Linked DNA regions of Homo sapiens: all the other regions are linked to region 6. The links are contacts of gene promoters, found by promoter capture Hi-C in blood cells and fetal thymus (Javierre and others, 2016). All regions are on one chromosome and are shown on one strand. Each heading gives the region's core, a stretch centred on a gene start or on the middle of the fragment in contact. The rest is flanking DNA. Distances are from core to core; before and after follow the strand shown.

Evidence for each region. The method cuts DNA at HindIII sites, captures the fragments that hold promoters and counts their contacts. A CHiCAGO score of 5 or more calls a contact.
Region 1: a contact is called between the fragment with the promoter of ZNF583 here and the fragment with the promoter of ZNF548 in region 6, in 2 of 17 cell types (total CD8 T cells and naive CD4 T cells). The highest score is 5.4, in total CD8 T cells.
Region 2: a contact is called between a fragment that was not itself captured here and the fragment with the promoter of ZNF548 in region 6, in 1 of 17 cell types (total B cells). The highest score is 5.7, in total B cells.
Region 3: a contact is called between the fragment with the promoter of ZNF497 here and the fragment with the promoter of ZNF548 in region 6, in 5 of 17 cell types (non-activated CD4 T cells, naive CD4 T cells, naive CD8 T cells and 2 more). The highest score is 10.3, in non-activated CD4 T cells.
Region 4: a contact is called between a fragment that was not itself captured here and the fragment with the promoter of ZNF548 in region 6, in 6 of 17 cell types (naive CD8 T cells, naive CD4 T cells, non-activated CD4 T cells and 3 more). The highest score is 6.5, in naive CD8 T cells.
Region 5: the fragment with the promoter of ZNF8 here is called in contact with the fragment with the promoter of ZNF548 in region 6 in 1 of 17 cell types (neutrophils); the score reaches 6.5 in neutrophils.
Region 7: a fragment that was not itself captured here is called in contact with the fragment with the promoter of ZNF548 in region 6 in 2 of 17 cell types (total B cells and naive CD8 T cells); the score reaches 7.7 in total B cells.

Annotation. Positions count from the first base shown.
Region 1 is chr19:56,403,072-56,405,771 of GRCh38, forward strand. It overlaps ZNF583 (zinc finger protein 583), which reads left to right and starts at 1,261. Exons shown (of 5, transcript NM_152478.3): 1 at 1,261-1,381. RefSeq lists an enhancer at 685-824 and a silencer at 1,285-1,494. The HindIII fragment of the contact is 8,045 bases long and covers 1-2,700 here.
Region 2 is chr19:58,300,544-58,303,243 of GRCh38, forward strand. ZNF8 (zinc finger protein 8) reads left to right here. Exons shown (of 4, transcript NM_021089.3): 4 at 1-2,248. All of the region lies in intron 4 of ZNF8-ERVK3-1 (ZNF8-ERVK3-1 readthrough (NMD candidate)), which reads left to right. Among named protein-coding and RNA genes, the nearest start is that of ERVK3-1, 3.5 kb to the right of the region's middle. The HindIII fragment of the contact is 9,060 bases long and covers 1-2,700 here.
Region 3 is chr19:58,361,396-58,364,095 of GRCh38, forward strand. It overlaps ZNF497 (zinc finger protein 497), which reads right to left and starts at 1,356. Exons shown (of 3, transcript NM_198458.3): 1 at 1,282-1,356. ZNF497-AS1 (ZNF497 antisense RNA 1) reads left to right here and starts at 1,231. Exons shown (of 3, transcript NR_136527.1): 1 at 1,231-1,357. It also overlaps the pseudogene RNA5SP473. RefSeq lists enhancers at 643-1,191, 921-1,050. The HindIII fragment of the contact is 6,825 bases long and covers 1-2,700 here.
Region 4 is chr19:58,184,747-58,187,446 of GRCh38, forward strand. It overlaps ZNF274 (zinc finger protein 274), which reads left to right. Exons shown (of 8, transcript NM_133502.3): 3 at 966-1,092; 4 at 2,201-2,296. Among named protein-coding and RNA genes, the nearest start is that of ZNF274, 3.0 kb to the left of the region's middle. The HindIII fragment of the contact is 1,171 bases long and covers 789-1,959 here.
Region 5 is chr19:58,277,681-58,280,380 of GRCh38, forward strand. ZNF8 (zinc finger protein 8) reads left to right here and starts at 1,275. Exons shown (of 4, transcript NM_021089.3): 1 at 1,275-1,467. The coding sequence starts at 1,402. It overlaps ZNF8-DT (ZNF8 divergent transcript), which reads right to left and starts at 1,062. Exons shown (of 3, transcript NR_187495.1): 1 at 843-1,062. ZNF8-ERVK3-1 (ZNF8-ERVK3-1 readthrough (NMD candidate)) reads left to right here and starts at 1,286. Exons shown (of 7, transcript NR_144447.1): 1 at 1,286-2,700. RefSeq lists enhancers at 1,351-1,400, 1,821-1,870. The HindIII fragment of the contact is 22,069 bases long and covers 1-2,700 here.
Region 6 is chr19:57,388,454-57,391,153 of GRCh38, forward strand. ZNF548 (zinc finger protein 548) reads left to right here and starts at 1,401. Exons shown (of 4, transcript NM_001172773.2): 1 at 1,401-1,661. The coding sequence starts at 1,647. RefSeq lists enhancers at 959-1,038, 1,179-1,658. The HindIII fragment of the contact is 17,908 bases long and covers 942-2,700 here.
Region 7 is chr19:58,229,435-58,232,134 of GRCh38, forward strand. It overlaps ZNF544 (zinc finger protein 544), which reads left to right. Exons shown (of 7, transcript NM_014480.4): 2 at 34-136; 3 at 960-1,028. Among named protein-coding and RNA genes, the nearest start is that of ZNF544, 1.9 kb to the left of the region's middle. RefSeq lists an enhancer at 1-182. The HindIII fragment of the contact is 2,213 bases long and covers 145-2,357 here.

The sequences.
Region 1 (2,700 bases), core at 11-2,510, 990 kb before region 6:
TTTAGAGAGCTTCCACCCAGCTGAACATGTGGAGGTTACTGGAAGGTGCAACACCCTTTTTTCTGTACTTTGCCCTACGCATCTCTTCATCTATATCATTTGTAATATCCTTTATAATAAACTAGTAAACATAAGTGTTTCCTGAGTTCCGTGAGCCACTCTAGCAAAATATCGAACCGCAAAGAGGGGGTGGTGAAAATCCCAATTTGAAGGTGGTGGAGTCAGATGTTCCAGAGGCTAGACTTTAGTGGGAAGTGGGAAGGGGGAGGCAGGCTTGGGGACTGAGCCCTCAGCGAATGGTGTCTGACCCATCTCCAAGTAGACGGCGTCGGAATTAAACTGGAGGACACCCAGCTGGTGCCCGCTGCAGAACTCACTGAACTCATTGCTTGCTTGAGATGTGTGGGAAACTCCCCTATATTTGGTCAGAAAAGTCTTCTGTTATGATTAGTTGTCGTTGAGATAATAGAAAAAAATGCACCTTGCGTTTTTTCCACTGATTCAGAGGGCATAACTGAAAGAATGAAGAACTGAAAGAATGATCTTAATACTCTGCTTCGCTTTTCTTGATAATACGCATTACTTCCCAATATGCATCAGTGTCCTTTATTATTAATTTTTTCCTATTGAATTCCTCCCGCATTAGAATGCTGCTCCATGAGGTGGGGATTTTGTCTGCTTGTTCACTGCTGTGTGCCCAGGGCCCACGACAGTGCCCGATACAGCAGGCGCTCAATAAGTGGCGAATGAAAGACAGGGCAAGGCGGAGAGAGAAGAAACAGAAAGGGAAAGAGAAAGCCCGGGCCGCCAGAGCGCTTAATCACACGTACATCCTACCGGGCCCCTCTCCAGCTGGCTCAGGCTCCACACTGGTCCTCCAGCTCCCTTTTCTCAGCGATGGACTCACAGCCCCACCCGGAGCGCTGGAGCGCGGACGCGGTCACTGCGCGTGCGCCTCACCGCGCTGGCACCCCGGCCTGGCAGCCTTTGGGGACCTGAACCAGCTGCGCCTGCGCAGGTGGAACGGGTGGAACGGGTGGGGGAGCGGACAGTCGAACGGCCTGAGAGGGCTCAGCTGGTCCGGGTGGGATTCTGAAGGCCAGCGGAGGTGGGCTTACTAGGGAAAGGGGCGCAGCAGTAACTACCCGCAACTGAGCGGCGGGATCTGCGGCCGCCCGGGGCCCTCGGCCAACATCCCAGCATCCTCTGCGCCGCGCCGGCCCCGGACTCCATTTCCCAGCGGCCCCTGCGGCCTGCCCTAGGGCTGCGGCGCCTTTGTGAGCGCGGCCGCCGGCCAGGATCGAGCCCTGGCCCGGGCCCTGGCCCAGCCCCGGCCTCCAAGGACCGCGCCGAAGGAGGTGCCCACTGGAGGGAGGAGGCGGTGAGGAGCGCGGGATGGAGCTGACGCCGGGAGCGGCCATGCCACCATGTGTGGGACCGTGTGTGACAGTGTGTGAGAATGTGTGAGACATTAAGGAACCGTGTGTGACAATGTGTTTGACAGTGTGGAATCGTGTGTGAGACCATGTGTGACTGTGTGAGAATTTGAGACCGTGTGTGACAGTGTGAGAATGTGAGGCCGTGTGTGAATATGTGTGTCAGTGTGAGACCATGTGGGACAAATGTGGGACTATGTGTGACAGTATGAGACTGGGTGTGAGAATGTGTGCGACAGTATGAGACCGTTGCCCCGGTGTATGCGGGAGCCTTTGACAGTATATGGGACCGTGTGGGACTGTGTGACACTGTATGTGCTTAAGACCACGTCACCATGTGTGAGACTGGGAATGTGTGACAGTGTTAAACTGTCATTATGTGTAGACCACGTGTGAACAGTGTGTAAGACCATGTCACTGTGTGTGTGACCTGTGTGTGTGGGATAATGTAAGACTGTGTGACAGTGTGTGTGACTTTGTGAACAGAGCTTGACCGTGTGTGTAGGATTAGATGAGACTGTGACAGTATGTGAGACCATGTCACCGTGTGTGAGGCTATGTGTGGTTGTGTACGGTGTGTGGCTGTTGATATGGGACCACATGAAACTGCGACAGAATTTGTGTGACAGTGTGTGAGACTGTGTCACTGTATGTGAAACTGTATGTGAACAGAGTTTTTGTTGTTGGACTAAGATTGTATGTGACAGTGTTTGAGATTGTGCATGACAGTGTGTGTGATTATGTGAGACTGAGGGAGATGGTGTGACTTAGCACTGTATGTCATCCCGACAGTGAGTGTGACAGTGTGACTGAGAATGGCCTTATATGACCCATTGTGAGAGCAGGGCGGGCTACAATGTGGGGGCATGTCCATAGGTTGCCAGGGGAGGTGCCAGAATGAGAAACTATGTGGTTTGTTGTCTGTGATTTGTGTGGGCAGGAAGCTGTGTGGGTGCTTGGAGATGCTGGTGTGCTCTGGGGTTTGGGAGACTGCTGTTGTGGTGGAGAGACAGAAAGATTGAGATAAAGGGGAAAAGATGGAGAAAGGGAGGGACGAGAGCTGAAAAGGGAGAGACAGACAGGAGCCTCAGCCTTAAGCCTGAAAAGCTGACCACGCTGGCTGCTTGTCCTCTGGCACAGTAGTTTTTCCATCCCTCTCAGTCTCTGGGGGCACGTGAGGAATTTAAAAGGAAAAAGGAATGGGAGACCTACCATGTGCTGGTTATGAAAATAAATGACAGAAAGATGAAAATTAAGCACTGTG
Region 2 (2,700 bases), core at 42-2,541, 910 kb after region 6:
ATTTACCTTTCTAACCTCTGTGGTGGAGACAGGTGGGAGAGAAAAGTCCTGGGAAGTGGATGATGGAGGCAGCTAGCCGTAGCTGCTGCTTTTCTCTTCAAGCTCTTGGGAGAATTGCTTGTGCTCCCTATTCCCTTGGTGGATGATGGAGGCAGCTAGCCGTATCTGCTGCTTTTCTCCTTCAAGCTCTTGGGAGAATCGCTTGTGCTCCCTATTCCCTTGGTGGCAGCTCACACCTCAGACCTGCTGTCCGCCCCCACTGCTTCACAGAACCCACTGCAACCACTGTCCAAGGTACTACCTCTGGTGTCGTCTCTCTTCATCCCCAGGACTGTGAAGCCTGCTAACCTCTTTGCAGAGCTCCATCTCCTTGCATTGTGGGGTTCCTTCTAACTCTTCAGGGACTTCTCAACCTCCCGTCACCCTTCCTAAATGCTGGGGTCCTAGAGTCCACCTTGTGCTCCACGCCCTCCCCAGGTGTCATCTACATCCCTAGCTTTGTGCTGCTCACCACCAAATCAGTCTGGTGCTTCTGAGATTTGGGCTTCAGACCCAAACAACTGCTGTGTGCTACTGGGCAACTCCCCGAGGTGTGCCGAAAGCTCCCCAAACCCAGCCTACCCCAAACAAAACTCATTTTCCACCCAGACTAGTCTCTGCTTCCCTGATCCCTTTCCTGGAGGCTGTTTCCACTTGCCATCCCATCATGGAAGCCAGAAAACCAGTCTTCTTGACCTCTCCCCTTCCCCACTCCATGGAGTTAGAGGTCCTGTTGATTTTGCCATGTAAACATTTCGGATTTGCTTACTTCATCCCCACTGCCACCAACAGTGCAGGATGGCCCTAAGAGGAGAAGTAATGTGCTACCAAGTGGCCCAGCCAGAGTGTGAACCAAACAGTCTGGTACCAAAACCCTATTCTGGATCATTCCTCCTTTCTGCTCCACCAGCAGTTTGGGGCACAGGCTTGGGAATCCAGACAGGAAAGCTCCTCCCCTCTGAAGCAGTGGGACCAAAAATGACAGCATGGTTCTAGACAGCTCTGGAAGTCAGGCCTGTGATTGCCTCATTCCCTCCACCTTGGCCCCCAAAATGGCCAGTCCTGAAGGGGTCACAGTTGATACTTCTCTGAGGGGGCATGGGGTTGGCTGAGGTTATAGCAGCCCCACAGGGTGGTAAGCTGGGATGAAGCAATCAACTGGAACTCAACAAGCCTTGAGTTCTCAAAGGGGGTGTGGGAAGGTTCTTATACATCTTCTATGAAGGGCAGTTTATCAGTCACTAAATTACAAATACATAAACCCTTTGTCTCACCAAACCTGCTGGGAATGAATCCTACATATATATTTATATGTGTGCAGGCTACATGGTTTTCATTATGCTATTGATTTTAAAAGTAAAAATTTGGAAAGAACCTCCATGTCCACCATGGGGAACTGGCTAAGTCATTTATGGTGGAATGGTGATCATAAAAATTCATTAAAAATGAAGACTCTATATACAGCTTGAATATTCCTTATCGAAATGCTTGGGACCAGAAGTGTTTCAGATCTTTGCATATTTTCTGTTTCTCATTTCAGTTCACATTTTCTAAGCATGATATTCCTACTGATTTCCTTGTAGATATTTTGAAACAGATAAGAAACTCCTCCGTGGAAATTACTGTTAACTAGGGAAAAGACATGTTTTTTTCTGTTCATAAAAGTAATGCGAGTTCTTTGTAGCAAAACTTGGAAAATGCATAAAAGTAAAAAAAAAATGAAAACTTGTGTAAAATTCCTCATACTTTAGCCATCCATAGATGGTCCTTACCATTAGGATTTTACTAATTTTCCTTGCAGCTTTTTCTTAAAATATACACGTGTGTCTACACATACATAGTGTACACTAAATTTTACATACACACAGAGGAATATATATGTGTATAGTTATCTTGTGTTTAGAAATTTGGAATCCCTTCTAGTTGTCTTGTAACATGTGCTTACTCTATTTTGAGGATTTTCTCTATGAATTTCATGTAGCTCTTTAAATTAACTTTCAGGAGGATTGTAACAATGTGCTCTCCACCCAGTATTTTACCAGCCTTGAGTTTTCTCAAAGGGGGCATTGGAGGGGTTCTTATACATTTACAGTGGGAATGTGAATTGATACAACTTCTGTGGAGGGCAGTTTATCAGCCACTATCTAAATTACACATACATAAACCCTTTGTCTAAGCAAACTTGCTGGGAATAAATCCTACACATATATTTGTATGTGTGCAGACTGTTTGTACATGGTTTTCATTATGCTATTGATTTTAAAAGTCAGAATTTGGAAACAACCCTCCATGTCCACCATGGGGAACTGGCTAAGTCATTTATGGTGGAATGGAGATCATAGCCTTAAAAATGAAGACTCTTTATATACAGGTTGAGTATCCCTTATCCAAAATGCTCAGGACCAGAAGTGTTTCAGATTTCAGATTTTTGAATTAGGGATCCTCAAACTATACTAATGTGAGAAAGAGCTCTAAGATAGTTAAGTAGATAAAAGCAAGGTGTCAAACTGTAGAGTATGTTTCCATTTATGTAAAGAAGAAACAGGCTAGGCAAGGTGACTCACGCCTGTAATCCCAGCACTTTGGGAGGCCGAGGCGGGTGGATCACCTGAGGTCCGGAGTTCAAGACCAGCCTGACCAACACGGTGAAACCCCATCTCT
Region 3 (2,700 bases), core at 106-2,605, 970 kb after region 6:
GCCCAGGTTGGAGTGCAGTGGCGTGATGTGGGCTCACCGCGACCTCCGCCTCCTGGGTACAAGCGATTCTCCTGCCTGAGACTCCCGAGTAGCTGGGATTACAGGCACCAGCCTCCACACCCGCCTAATTTTTGTGTTTTCAGTACAGATGGGGTTTCACCATGTTGCTCAGGCTGGTCTTTAACTCCTGAGCTCAAGGGATCCACCCGCCTTGGCCTCCCAAAGTGCTGGGATTACAGACATGAGCCACCGCACCTGGCCTCTAGTTTTTCAAGATGCCACCTTTAGGGGAATTGGGTAAAGCGTACATAGGGTATGCATTACTTGTTACTGCATGTGAATTTATAATTACCTCAAATCAAAAGTTAAATTTTAAAAAAACGACATCTGATTTCAATAAAAATCCATATTTGTGTATTGAAGTATCAGAAATCCGGGTCCCCCAAGGGCCCATGTTTCTTAAGGCGGAGCCAGGCACCGCTGCCCCTCCATCCTGTGGTGTGCGACCCCGACCCGCCAGCCCCCAGCCGCATCTATCAGGGCTGCCGTCCTGAGTCCGTCCTCGTCGTGGGATAGCATGTGAGCCCCGTAAGGTCCTTCCTGTCGGCCTCACTGCTCCAGCCTCCCCGACGTCCTCACGTCCACGCTGCGTGCCCTTTCTGAGCCTCAACGCCTCCTCCTCACCTCGACATGATCAGAGCCACCTCCCGCGTCAGTCCCAGCGCCCACGCCCCCAACAACGGGCACTTGTCCGACCAGTCACGGGTACTTGTGTCTCCCCCACAACCCCCAAGGCCTAGGCTGGACAAACAAATACGGAGTGGATAAAGGGGAGGAAGCTGCGGCCAGGTGGCGCGAGGCCTGTGCGGGCAGCTCCGGAGGCTGGGAGGCGAGCCCAGCCTGGTGAGCTCCGAAACTACCCGGGGCTGGGGACTGATGAACGAATAAATGAATGTGGGAAGAAATGATGGCGCGGCAGGGCATGAGTGAATGAGTGAAAGAATAAACGAGCAGGAGGAACGATGCCACAGAACTGATCGCCATAAGGCTCGCGTTCACCGAGAGAACAGCAAACGGGAGCCATTTCCGTCCCGACCACGGTCGCCTCTGGCCCGTGCAGGGCCACTTCCGGGCCGCTCTGGACGGCGCGGAGGCCTATCTCTCGGTGGTCCCAGAGGGCCCAGCTCAGGGCCGAGGCCCGTCCTGCCCCGCGCGGCGGGAGTGGTTGGAGCCGGAGGGCGGATCTGTGCCTGGCCGAGGGTGTCCGTCGGCGTCACTCACCGTCCTCGGCCCGCCTCTGCGTCCACTAGGAGCGGCCTGAAAGAGGCCCGCACGCGGGCTCGAGCCGCGTGGAATGGTAGGAGGGCGGGCACCGGGTCTCCTGGGGGCGCGGTTGCATTCGGCAGAGCGGCCCAAGGCGTCGCGTTTCTCCCCACTGCGCCTGCGTAACTATGCCGCGGCTGCGGGCGCGCGCCTTCTGGTTCCCATGGGGACGGCGCCACAGCCAAGCTACTCGGGCGTCCTGCGTTGCCATGGATGCGCTCCGCCCCTTCCTGCACCCGGCCAGCCTCTGCGGCACACACCCAACAGCTACACAGGCGCCTGGGGCTGCCCGGGTCGCGGACGCAAGTCGGGCCAACGTAGCTTCTCCCTGGCGGTCCTCCTCCGGCCCCAGGCCGTCTTTACCACCCTGGAACCTTGCTGAGTTGACGCCACTGAGCTGCGTCTCACACCCACGCGCTGTGGAACACCCACCAAGCTGGAATCCACGCGGTTTTTAAAATAGAGTCGGGGGCCGGGCGCGGTGACTCACGCCTGTAATCCCAGCACTTTGGGAGGTCGAGGCGGGCGGATCACGAGGTCAGGAGATCGAGACCATCCTGGCTAACACGGAGAAACCCCGTCTCTACTAAAAATACAAAAAATTAGCCGGGCGTGGTGGCGGGCGCCTGTAGTCCCAGCTACTCGGGAGGCTGAGGCAGGAGAATCGCTTGAACCTGGGAGGCGGAGCTTGCAGTGAGCCGAGATCGCGACACTGCACTCCAGCCTGGGGCGACAGAACGAGACTCCGTCTCAAAAAAAAAAAAAAAAAATTGAGTCGGGATCTCAGAAGCTAAGCAGGGTCGGGCCTGGTTAGTACTTGGGAGACCGTCTGGGAACACCGAGTGCTGTTGGCTAAAATAAATAAATAAACCGGGCGCGGTGGCTCACGCCTGTAATCCCAGAACTTTGGGAGGCCGAGGCGGGCAGATCACGAGGTCAGGAGTTCGAGACCAGCCTGACCAACATGGTGAAACCCCGTCTCTACTGAAAATACAAAAATTAGGCTTGTTGGCGTGTGCCTATAATCCCAGCTACTCGGGAGGCTGAGGCAGGAGAATCGCTTGAACCGGGGAGGCAGAAGTTACAGTGAGCTGAGGTCGTGCCACTGCACACTCCAGCCTGGGTGACAGAGCAAGACTCCGTCTCAAAAAACAACATAGACCAGATGCTGTAAGCTAAAATAAATGAATAGCTAGAGACGGGGTCTCGCTATATGGCCCAGGCTGGTCTTGAACTTCTGGGCTCAAGTGATCCTCCCACCTTGGCCTCCCAAAGTGCTAGGATTACAGACCCGAGCCACTGCACCCGGCCTCCACGAGCTCTTTTTGTACCAATTTTTCCCAATTTGTACTAGGGAGCTCTCACCTCAGCCCAGGT
Region 4 (2,700 bases), core at 124-2,623, 800 kb after region 6:
TTGGGTGTGATGGTGCAGCTCAGAGAATTCCCTAGGAGGCATACGCACCACTCCCAAAGTCAGAATTTTCAAATGAATAAGAAATAGGGGGCCGGGCGCGGTGGCTCACGTCTGTAATCCCAGCACTTTGGGAGGCCGAGGCAGGTGGATCACGAGGTCAGGAGATTGAGACCATCCTGGCTAACATAGTGAAACCCCGTCTCTACTTAAAAAAATACAAAAAATTAGCCGGGCGTGGTGGCGGGCGCCTGTAGTCCCAGCTACTCGGGAGGCTGAGGCAGGAGAATGGCGTGAACCGGGGAGGCGGAGCTTGCAGTGAGCCGAGATGGCGCCACTGCACTCCAGCCTGGGCGACAGAGAGAGACTCCGTCTCAAAAAAAAAAGAAAAGAAAAATAGGGCCGGGTGCGGTGGCTCACATGTGTAATCCCAGCACTTTGGGAGGCCGAGGCAGGCAGATCACAAGGTCAGGAGTTCGAGACCAGCTTGACCAACATGGTGAAACCCCATCTCTACTAAAAATACAAAAATTAGCCGGGCATGGTGGTATGCGCCTGTAATCCCAGCTACTCAGGAGGCTGAGGCAGGAGAATCGCTTGAACCTGGGAGGTGGAGGCTGCAGTGAGCCAAGATTGCGCCACTGCACTCCACTAGGAGACAGAGTGAGACTCTGTCTCAAAACAATAAATAAATAAATTAAATAAATAAATAAATAAATAAAATGGACAGATTTTCATATGCTACAGAGATCTCATGTGTTGCTCTCCTTATTGTAACCTGAATAGAGTCAAGCTTGGGTTTGCTTGGGGTTTCAGACAAAGACAGGAACTCAGGATGAGACTCCCAAAATGCCCTTGGGTCATCTTGTAGACCATTCTGTGCTTTCACTGGCCTGGTCAGCCTCCCCTGTCTTTCTTTTGTCGTGGATGCGGATGGCCTGTGGCTGAACAAGAATCTGGATTTTTAGGAACCAGTGACCTTTGAAGATGTAACACTGGGTTTTACCCCGGAAGAGTGGGGACTGCTGGACCTCAAACAGAAGTCCCTGTACAGGGAAGTGATGCTGGAGAACTACAGGAACCTGGTCTCAGTGGGTAAGGCTGGCCTCCAGGTCAAGAAGGATCTGTGCTTTGTAGCACAAATGTAGCACCTCTGAAGTATGTGTCTGCTTGGGCTCACACTGCAGGGGCACCAGTAGGAAAAGGGCAGCTTTTCAGTATGACTTCTGAATCATTGCCTAGTCCATCCCTCCCTGAATACCAGGGAGATGGGTCTGTCAGGGATGTTTTCAGCTGCAGTAGTGGATGCTTATTGTTCTTGCAACAAGAGTTCCGGCCAGGCATGGTGGCTCACTTTAGGAGACTGAAGCAGGAGGATTGCTTGAGCCCAGGAGTTTGAGACCAGCATGGGCAACATAGACCGTGTCTCTATTAAAAAAAAAAAAAAAAAGAAACTCCACAGAAATTCCAGACAATGCGATGCCAGTGTCCCAACAGCTTAGGAGTAGCATCAAAGAGCCTGTCCCTGCCAGGCACGGTAGCTTACGCCTGTAATCCTGGCACTTTGGGAGGCTGAGGCAGGCAGATCAGTTGAGGTCAGGAGTTCTAGACCAACCTGACCAACATGATGAAACCCTGTCTTTACTAAAAATACAAAAATTAGCCGAGCACCCCAGCTACTCAGGAGGCTGAGCCAGGAGAACTGCTTGAACATGGGAGGTGGAGGAGATTGCAGTGAGCTGAGATCAGATCACAGCACTCCAGCTTGGGCAACTGAGCAAGACTCCGTCTCAAAAAAAAAAAAAAAAAGCCTGTCCCTTCAAACTCTGGTTATTGTGAACCTTTCCATGTTCCCCCTAGTCATTGCACAGCTGTGGCTCCAAGCATTGCATCTGTGTTCAAGGCAGAAACAAGGAGAAGGGGTAGCCCTTTCACAGCTGTCATGTTTAACCAGAAAGCAAAAGCTTTCCCAGCTGACCGATCTCCCTTTGTGTCTGGCTGACCAGAACTGGACCCCTTAGCTGCTTGGCAAAGGAGTCTAGGAAAGCCAACAACAGGGATGGATGGAGTTGTGTTCACTGCTCTAGGCCAGAAGTCATGTGCCTTAGCAGGGGAGAAGCTGGAGACGGCTTGTGCTGCAGTAGGATAGCATTTTCTCCTGAACACAGACCCCCACAAGCCCTGTCTCTTTTCCTTTGAGCAGAACATCAGCTTTCCAAACCAGATGTGGTATCTCAGTTAGAGGAGGCAGAAGATTTCTGGCCAGTGGAGAGAGGAATTCCTCAAGACACCATTCCAGGTGAGAACCAGACATGGGAAGCCCCCACAGGGAAGGGGCCAACTGATGAGTCAGGGACCAGTATCTTGGAAAAGCAGTAGACATTGGGATACCCCAGGTGGGATGCTGTGATGAGCAGTTGCAGAACCAAACTCGAAGTTTTTCTCTGGCTCCACAGTCAGCAGTGTCCTACTTGGTTGAAAGTGAACCTGTTGCTGGTGGCAGGTGATACTTGTGTTGACAGTAGGGGCTCCCTTAGTCTGTTACACGCATTGTCTACTGCCCTCCCCTCATAATCACTGGTAACCCTGGTGTGTATTTCCAGCCAGACTTTCTTATATAGGCTTACGTGAATGTATGTGAATATATATACACATTTTGGGGGTGTTATAATACAGACAAGTCAGCTTCTTTTTGTTTTGGAG
Region 5 (2,700 bases), core at 25-2,524, 890 kb after region 6:
TCCCGAGAAGCTGGGACTACAGGTGCCCGCCACCACGCCGGGCTAATTTTTGTATTTTTAGTAGAGACGGGGTTTCACCATATTGGCCAGGTTGGTCTCGAGCTCCTGACATCGTGATCCACCCGCCTCGACTTCCCAAAGTGCTGGGATTATAGGCGTTAGCCACCGCGCCCGACCTTTAATAAACATTTTAATGGACTACAACAGACCCACAGAAAAAGACACATCACAAAGTGAACACCCACAGGGAGAAGCAATAGGGCTGTCAGAGGCATTCGACCCAGAGCGACTCCATTTTGAGTGAGGGCTAGGAAAATGAGGCTGGGCTGCATTCCCAGAAAAGTAGGTATTCCTAACCTCTAGATGTTTACGGTTAAGGGAACAAATTAATAATGGGTACTAAAACAGACCCAGACTTGGGAGTGTCCAGATATCCCGGTATCTAGAGAACAAAGGCATTCCTAATTTTGCTTTAAAAATAATATCGATTCTTGAAAAATACAGTAAGAAAATTAATCCTTTTTCACAAACCCTTGTAGCAGAGCACATCTCCCCAAAATCTATTTTTAGCCCAAATATACACAAGCATTGTACCTAGGGTGCATACGTTCCTCTTACTTTCAGGAACGTCCTACTGTCTATGGGGTAGCTGTTTCACAACTTTACTTTCTCAACAAACTTGCTTTTACTTTGCACTGCGGACTCGCCCTGAATTTTTTCTTGCGCGAGATCCAAGAACCCTCCCTTGGGGTCTGAATCGGACCCCTTTCCTGTAACACAACCACCGCTCCCAGCCTCCCCGCTTCCAGCCGCTAAGCCCAAAGTCTTTTATATGAACAAACCTCTAACTCGTCCTGTGACTTTGATGCGTGTGCGTTTTAGGCACCGGGGAGCAGAGGGTAAAGCGGCGCAGCTCCGGGCCTCCTCCCGCGCAAGTTCCCGAGAAGAGCAGGTCCGGCCCGCGCAGACGTGCACGGTCCCCAGCCATTAGGAGGAGCAGACGGTCCCCACCCCCACAATCAGTCATCTCTCGGGGTCCGCCCTTGCTTCCTGCCCACGAGTGAGGCCTCTGGTTGCCCGCAACCTAAGGGGCATCGCAGCCCCGAGCAACACCGCCCCCACCAGCCTTAGCTGAGTGCTCCCATTGGCCAGAGGCCAGCGGGTGGGGGCTCCCATTGGCCATCGGCCATAATGCTTCCATTGGTCGAAGGCCAGACCAGCGGAGACTCCCATTGGCCGAGGGCTGTGGTTCGCCGCACGGCCTACTGGGAGTTGTAGTCGCCGCGTCGCCGGTGCGGCCGCCATTGTCCGGCGTTCGGCGAGTCGGGTGGTCCCTTTGGCTGGAGTGCCTCTCTGGTCTGGGGATCACCTCAGGCGCTGTCCTTCACTGGGCGATCCAGCATGGACCCCGAGGACGAAGGGGTAGCGGGAGTGATGTCTGTGGGGCCGCCGGCGGCCCGGCTTCAGGTAACAATAACAACAATAACGACGGCGGCGGGCTCCGGGCAAGCGTCTCCCGCGCAGACTGACCCTTTCACCTCGCGGCGCGATGAGAGCGGCACCGCTGTTAATGCCCTTGACACGTGGGGAAACTCAGACGCGGGTCGGGGCGTGGTGACCGTCCTGGCTGGTCAGAGAGGGGGCCGGGATTCCAACCAGGCGCCTGGCCCCCGAATGCGCATGCTCCACGCGGCTCTGTCCTCCCCAGGGCTGGGGTCGGTCATTCCCGAGAGAATCGAGCAGGCCCATCTCCTGCGTTCTGCTCCGCCCCGCCGACACCCTTGCCCATTCCAGGAAGGTCTGTCCTCGTGTTGACTGATAACAGTAATTGTAGCGTTGGCCGGGTGCCCAGATGGCAAGAATCATCGAATAGAGATGCTTTAACGCGTGGAGTCAGCGGACACCCACCGGGACCCCAGCACCGCGGAGCCCCTGCCCTGGGGCTTGGGCACAACCTCTTGGGGGCAATGATGGGTCACCACGCACTGAGTGTGATGAGAGTGACCACCAGGGTCGTCCCCTGCGAGACTGTGGGAGAACTGCAGTGCAGGGCGGTCAGTGTTTGCAGGGCCATCTGGCCATCAGAGCTCCACTTTCTAGACAAAGTGGTTGCGGCCTGTGTTCTCCATAAAGCTGCCTCGCGTGGCAGGAAACAACAATAATTATCCTTCCTCAAGCTCTGCAACTTTGAAATTATACTTTTTTTTATTTTTTGTCGTTGGTTTGTTCATGGGGATTTGCATTATTTCAGATTTGGTACACAAAGTGAGACTTGATAATCTTAGGTTGCAGGTTTTCAGATGTGTGTTGCTCCAAATTTGCATGAAATGCTACCACGTTTTATTTTGTTCTTGCTGTGGATGGGGGACAAGGAATGAGTCGTAAGAAAGGCTTGAGAGAAAGTGTATTAGTTACCTGTTGCTGTGTAACTCAAAACTTCGTGACCTGGAACAACAATAAATATCTCACGAGTTCTGACAGGAGTAATGGAATGTCCTAGCTGGTGGTTCTGGTTCAGGCCCATGAAGTTACAGTGAAGATGTCAGCATAGCTGTTGTCACCTGAGACCTGAGTCTGGAGGATCCACCTCCAGGATGGCTCACTCACATGTCTGTTGATAGGAGACCTCAGTTGTTCTCCATGTAGGCCTCTCTTTGGAACTGCTAGGGATCCTTGCAACATGGCATCTGGCTTCCCACA
Region 6 (2,700 bases), core at 151-2,650:
TCATGGAATTCCACACCTTTTTTGAGGATAAGATGTGCATATGCTTCAACTATGAAAACGGTAGACAATGTTGTCCAGAAATGGCATGTATCAGCTGCTCTTGAGAAATAAAAATAAAATTCTAAGCACCCCCTAACTGACTGAATGGATGCCCTCTTGACCATGAGAACCCTAGAATAACTTTGGAAGCTGAATTCACCACTATAGAGGAACGGGAAATCAGACACACCTCATTATATCCCCTACCACACTACAATCATTAGGTTTTCTTCCCTAAGGGCTAAATAGAAATCAACCTTTTCAGAAGACTACTAGCTTATCTTCCAAGGTACAGAACAGAGAGAAGATGAGATTATTCATTCCTTCATCCTTCTCTGAGACATCTTCTTTATTCCCTTTTCCCCTCACGTGTTTACTCTATCTTATGTAAAATGTAGATTTACTGGGCACTAACTAAAGTTTCACATGTCTGTAATCATTTGTCTCACTGCCAACCCCTCTTCCTTTTTAAGGAAAATGTATAATAAATACTAAACCTCCTAAGAACCTCTTTGGAAAAACCAGCCACAGATGCTTCTGTGACTTACATTTTTCTGGATGTGCCCTTAGGCTGGTCCAGTAATCCTCCATGATTTGTGACTTATGCCTCAATCACTCATTTTGGTCGTCACTCTCATTTTCAGATAGGATTGTGATTCTTAAAATAAATGGAAAATATCTCAGATATGAAGTAGTAAGTATTATTAGAATAAAAGCGTTGCACCCTTCGTAGGAACACAATCGCTGACTCTACAGTCAGGTAAGATGTATTCTCTTTGATCCAGAGGCATAGCTTCACCCTTTCAACCTACTTCAGCGTCTCCTGTCATCCTTCCTACAAATTCCAGTCCATAGCCCTAACTGCGTAGTCTTTCTTTCTTCTTCTGGACCAAACATATTGAAGCTTACTAAACAGACGCCAAAGCGTAACTGTATGTGTATTTGAAAAGCAATAATATGGCTGGCAGGCATGAGTAGAGGCAGACTGCCTTTATGGTATGGGGTGTCTCTTTGGACCTGTAGTTATTGGGAATTAGCTGTGCTTAATAGAGTCTTAAGTAATAAGTTGCTAACATTTCTGTAAATATCCTATACTACAATCCAAAAAAATACCGTATGTTGCCTTTAAGAGCAAGCCAAGCCCCCTCCTGTCTTTGGAGTCGGGGACTCCGTTTCCCAGCTCCCCTGACAGTGCCACTGGGCCTTTATCTGCCATATAAGGACTGATCAACGCTCTAAGACAAGTCCGGAAGCGGTGTCGAAACTTCATAACCCAGAAGACACTGCAGCTCTCGGCGGCACGACTTACCCAATAAAGGCTTAGAAGGGGACGTTTGCGTGCGTGCGCACCGTCGGAGGGCGGGACTTCCGCCGTCCTCCTGGTGGTGGTCGTTTTGGTTCTGTGTGGTGTTTCACCAACTTCGGCCTATGGCTCTGTCTGACGTCACCGAAGTGACGGAACGGAAAAGCGCGAGAAGCGGCTCGGTTCCCACCACGGAGAGGCGGGAGTGAGTCAACTGACAAGCGCTGGGGACAGTGGCGTCCTTGTCTTGCCTTTGTCGCTCCCGCCCCGCTCTTCCCTGGCTGGGCTGGCGGAGGCCTTGCTGATGAACCTGACTGAGGTGGGTGTCCCGTCCCAGGCTCCCCCGCCCGACCGGTCCTCCCAGTGCTGAAGCCCCCTGAAGGGGCCCTGCAGGTCAGGCCCCTTGTCCCGAAGAGAGGGGCGTTCCTGTGTGGGGTCCCCGTATCAGCCGATTTGATGCAGCCTCAGAGCTCCCGTTAGGGACCTCAGGTTCAGAGCATGGAGGCGCTGCCGAGTGGGCTGTGTTGGGGCGTCAGGGGTGTGTGTTGTTTCTGCGGGAAAGAGAGGGTTTTGTGAATTCTCGCTTGGAATGGCAACCTGAGCAGCCAGTAACCATGGAAGGTTGTCAAGGGAGGGACAGTTGGAGGGGGCAGGTCCAGAGTTCGAAGTTTCAAGTTAGGAAAACCAGGTTAGGAATGGACACAGGGAGACGCGAAAAGGCCCTGAGGCCACTGCAGTAGACCCAGGAGAATTATGGTTGGGGCTGGACCAGTGACAGTAGAGGGAGATGTGATGAGATTCTTCATAGGCCTGAAAGATAGGGCCCGTAGGTTTTCCTGGTGCTTCAGTTATGTCTGAACAAAGGCAGTGAAGAACCGTTTCAAGTGTTTGTTTTGTTTTTTGTTTTCTGTTTGAACGTTTGGAAGAATGGAGTTGGGGAAGTCAGCATAAAGAGCAGATTTCCGGGAGAAGATCACAGGTTGGATTTTGGACATGGTGATTCTCAAATGTCTCAAGATGGATATGTCACACAGACAGGTGGACATAAAGGTGTGGAGTCTGAGGAAGGGGATTGGGTTGGCGATACCAGACGGATGGAGGGCTTGGACTGGGCCAGAGAATGGTCTGAGGATCAGATTGAGTAGGTCGGTCTCGGGTTTTTTTTGTTTGTTTGTTTGCATAAATTTAAGGAGTCAAGTGCAGTTTTGTTATATGGATATATTTGCATAGTGGTCAAGTCTGGGCTTTTAATGTATCCATCGCCTGAATAATGTACATTGTATCCATTAAGTAATTTTTCATCACTCATCTTCGTCTCATCCTTCTACCTGTTTGGAGTCTCCAATGTTTGTCATTCC
Region 7 (2,700 bases), core at 1-2,500, 840 kb after region 6:
TCCCTCAACTCATCTTCTGCGGCTTATCCACAGGTGGCAGCCAAGAGCCTCCTGGCACAGCGGCACCAGGCAGGTGACGCCTATTGGACCCCAGAGGTCATCCCAGCTCCAGACGTGGACACATTTTCTTCCAATGGTACGTGAAGCTTGAACCTTGCAGAGAACATGTGTATTTTCCAAGTGAACAGAAGATTAAGGCCAGTCCACGCAGGGCAGGGGTAACTGGGGTGTTGGGGGCCTGCACTGGTTAAGCGATGCTGGTGCACCCCATAGAGAGACTACAGAGGTGAACAGGATGGGATGTGTATGTAACGCCTGTAAGTTAGGGATCGGGGTTCCATTTGTGTTGGGTGATATTTGATGGGGACCGTACAAGGCAGTGCTAATGAGGAAGGCATGGGGTTGGATTTCAAGAGTCTAAGGGAGTAGGGAAACATCTGATTGTGGAAATGACTCCGTGTAAGGAGGGATGCCAAAAGACAGGAAGGAGTGGAGGAAGACTGTGTTTCTGTTTCCAGCGTGGAGCCAGGGTAGAAGTCACAGTGCAAGGAAGATGTGGTATGCCTGGTCAGTCTCTGCATGGGAGTTGAGGAGCATGTGGGTGACATGGCTGAATGTGGAGGAGGGAATGGCAGTGGCAGGAAGCCCAGGAGGTTTGGGCTGGACACGTAACCTGGAGCAGATTGGAAACGTCACCCCACAAGCAGGGAAGGAGAAAACTGGAAAAGGAAAGAGAAAGCAACTCCCTCCCCAGCCCTGCAGCCAGAGGGACTTCTGCCAGATCAGCCACCATACAGGTCCAGTATGAGGAACAGATGGGGAATTTTATGTCCAAGTATAATCACTATGAATACATGTGTTGTGCCCCTTTTGCAGGTTAACACAATGTTAAGCTCTGTAAATGCAACTCAATTAATTCTTTTAGCATCCTCACAAGGCAGGTCTTGCTGTTTTTCCAGATGTCTACGGATGAGGAAACTGAGGCCTGGAGAGGTTAAAGAGACCCGTTCAGAGTCCTACAGTGGCAGGTAATGGAGCCAGTACTTTGACAGCAGGTTGCAAAGTGAGTGTTCTCAGCCGTTGCCCTTGGATGCCTCCAGACAAGGAAGGACAGGGTTAGAGAGCAAAGATGGACACAGGCAGTGAGAGATTCCCCAGGGAAGGCCAGGAGCATCAGGACAAGATAGTAACACATAAGATATTGGGCAGACCTCTTGGATGTGGTCTACATTTGTGTTTGTGTGTGTGTTTGGGAGTGAGAGAGCAGAGCAGGATGGGCAAGATGAGGAGGGGGAAACTGAGAGTGTTGGTCACTCTGTTCAGGCCTCACCTGAGAGGAGAAGAGGCAGGGGGTGGGGCACTGGGATATGGATTCATCTTGACCAGGGAGAAGACATCTCAGCTCAGAATTTGAAGGGAGCTACTAATGAGTGCAGGCCTGCAGGAGTTTGTGTGCCAGGAGGTTGAAAGAGTCCAGAGTCATCCCTTGGAGTGAATTAAAAGGCCGATTTGTCTGCACAGAGAGGACAGTGGTGGGAGGGGACTGAAGTAGGGTGTGAGAGCATGAGCTCGCAGCTGTAAGGGGATAGTGACTGAGTGGATACTGGTGTTCCTGAACTCCTATACCACCCAGAACTCAGAAACTAGCAGGGTTGGGCAGAGAGGGCAGTCAAGGGCATAGGCAGATTGCACAGAACAAACAGATCAGAGAGGCCAAGAGGTGGGCCTCAGGCCAAGGATGTTAAGAAAAAGAACAGGGGCATTGGGCTGGGCTGGGGTGGGGTGTACCAGACGGGGAGGCTGGGAGCCTGAGTGGTAGTGTGCTTAGGGCCATGAGCTATGGAGCTCCCACCTTCTCACTCCCCAGCCACGAGGCCTCAGTTAAATTTTACTCAAGTTCTTTCTGCCTTGGTTTCCTCATTTAGAAAGCAGGGTAAATTCTGTTAATTGTCTTTGTGGGGTTACAAGGAAGATCAAATGCATGAATTCAGGCAGAGGACAGGGTACAGTGCCTGGCCTGTAGGAAGTACAGCCTGAGTGGTCAGTGGATTTTGAAAGGTAGGAAGGCCTGGGGCATTTGCTAGGGAAGGAAGCTGAGATCATAGGCCCCGGTGTGTTTTAATTCATGTCTTTATTATTTATTTTTTTATAAATGGGGTCTCACATGTTGCCCAGGCTTGTCTCGAACTTCTAGCCTCAAGAGAGCCTCCTGCCTTGGCCTCACAAAGTGCTGGGATTATATGTCTTTAATACAGAGCAGCTTTGTACATTTTTCAGCCATGTAGTTTATTTTATTGTGAACTATCTGTTTGTGACTGTCACCTCTCTTTTTCGTAGGTCTCTATTTTCATTAAAGAAGCTTAAATATTTTGTCAAGTTCAAAAAATAGTCCTGGTGTGTTTTTTGTTTTGTTTTGTTTTTTTCTTGAGACAAGGTCTTGCTCTGTCACCTAGGCTGGAATGGTGGCATGACCTCGGCTCACTGCAGTCTCCGCCTCCTGGGTTCAAGCGATTCTTGTGCCTCAGCCTCCCAAGTTACTGGGATTACAGATGTGTGCCGCCACGCCCAGCTAATTTTTTTTTTTTTTAGTATAGACAGGGTTTCTCCATGTTGTCCAGGCTGGTCTTGAACTTGAAAACTAATACAAAATATAATATGTAATGCCAGAAATAAGACTAGTTCTCACAGTAAATGTGATGG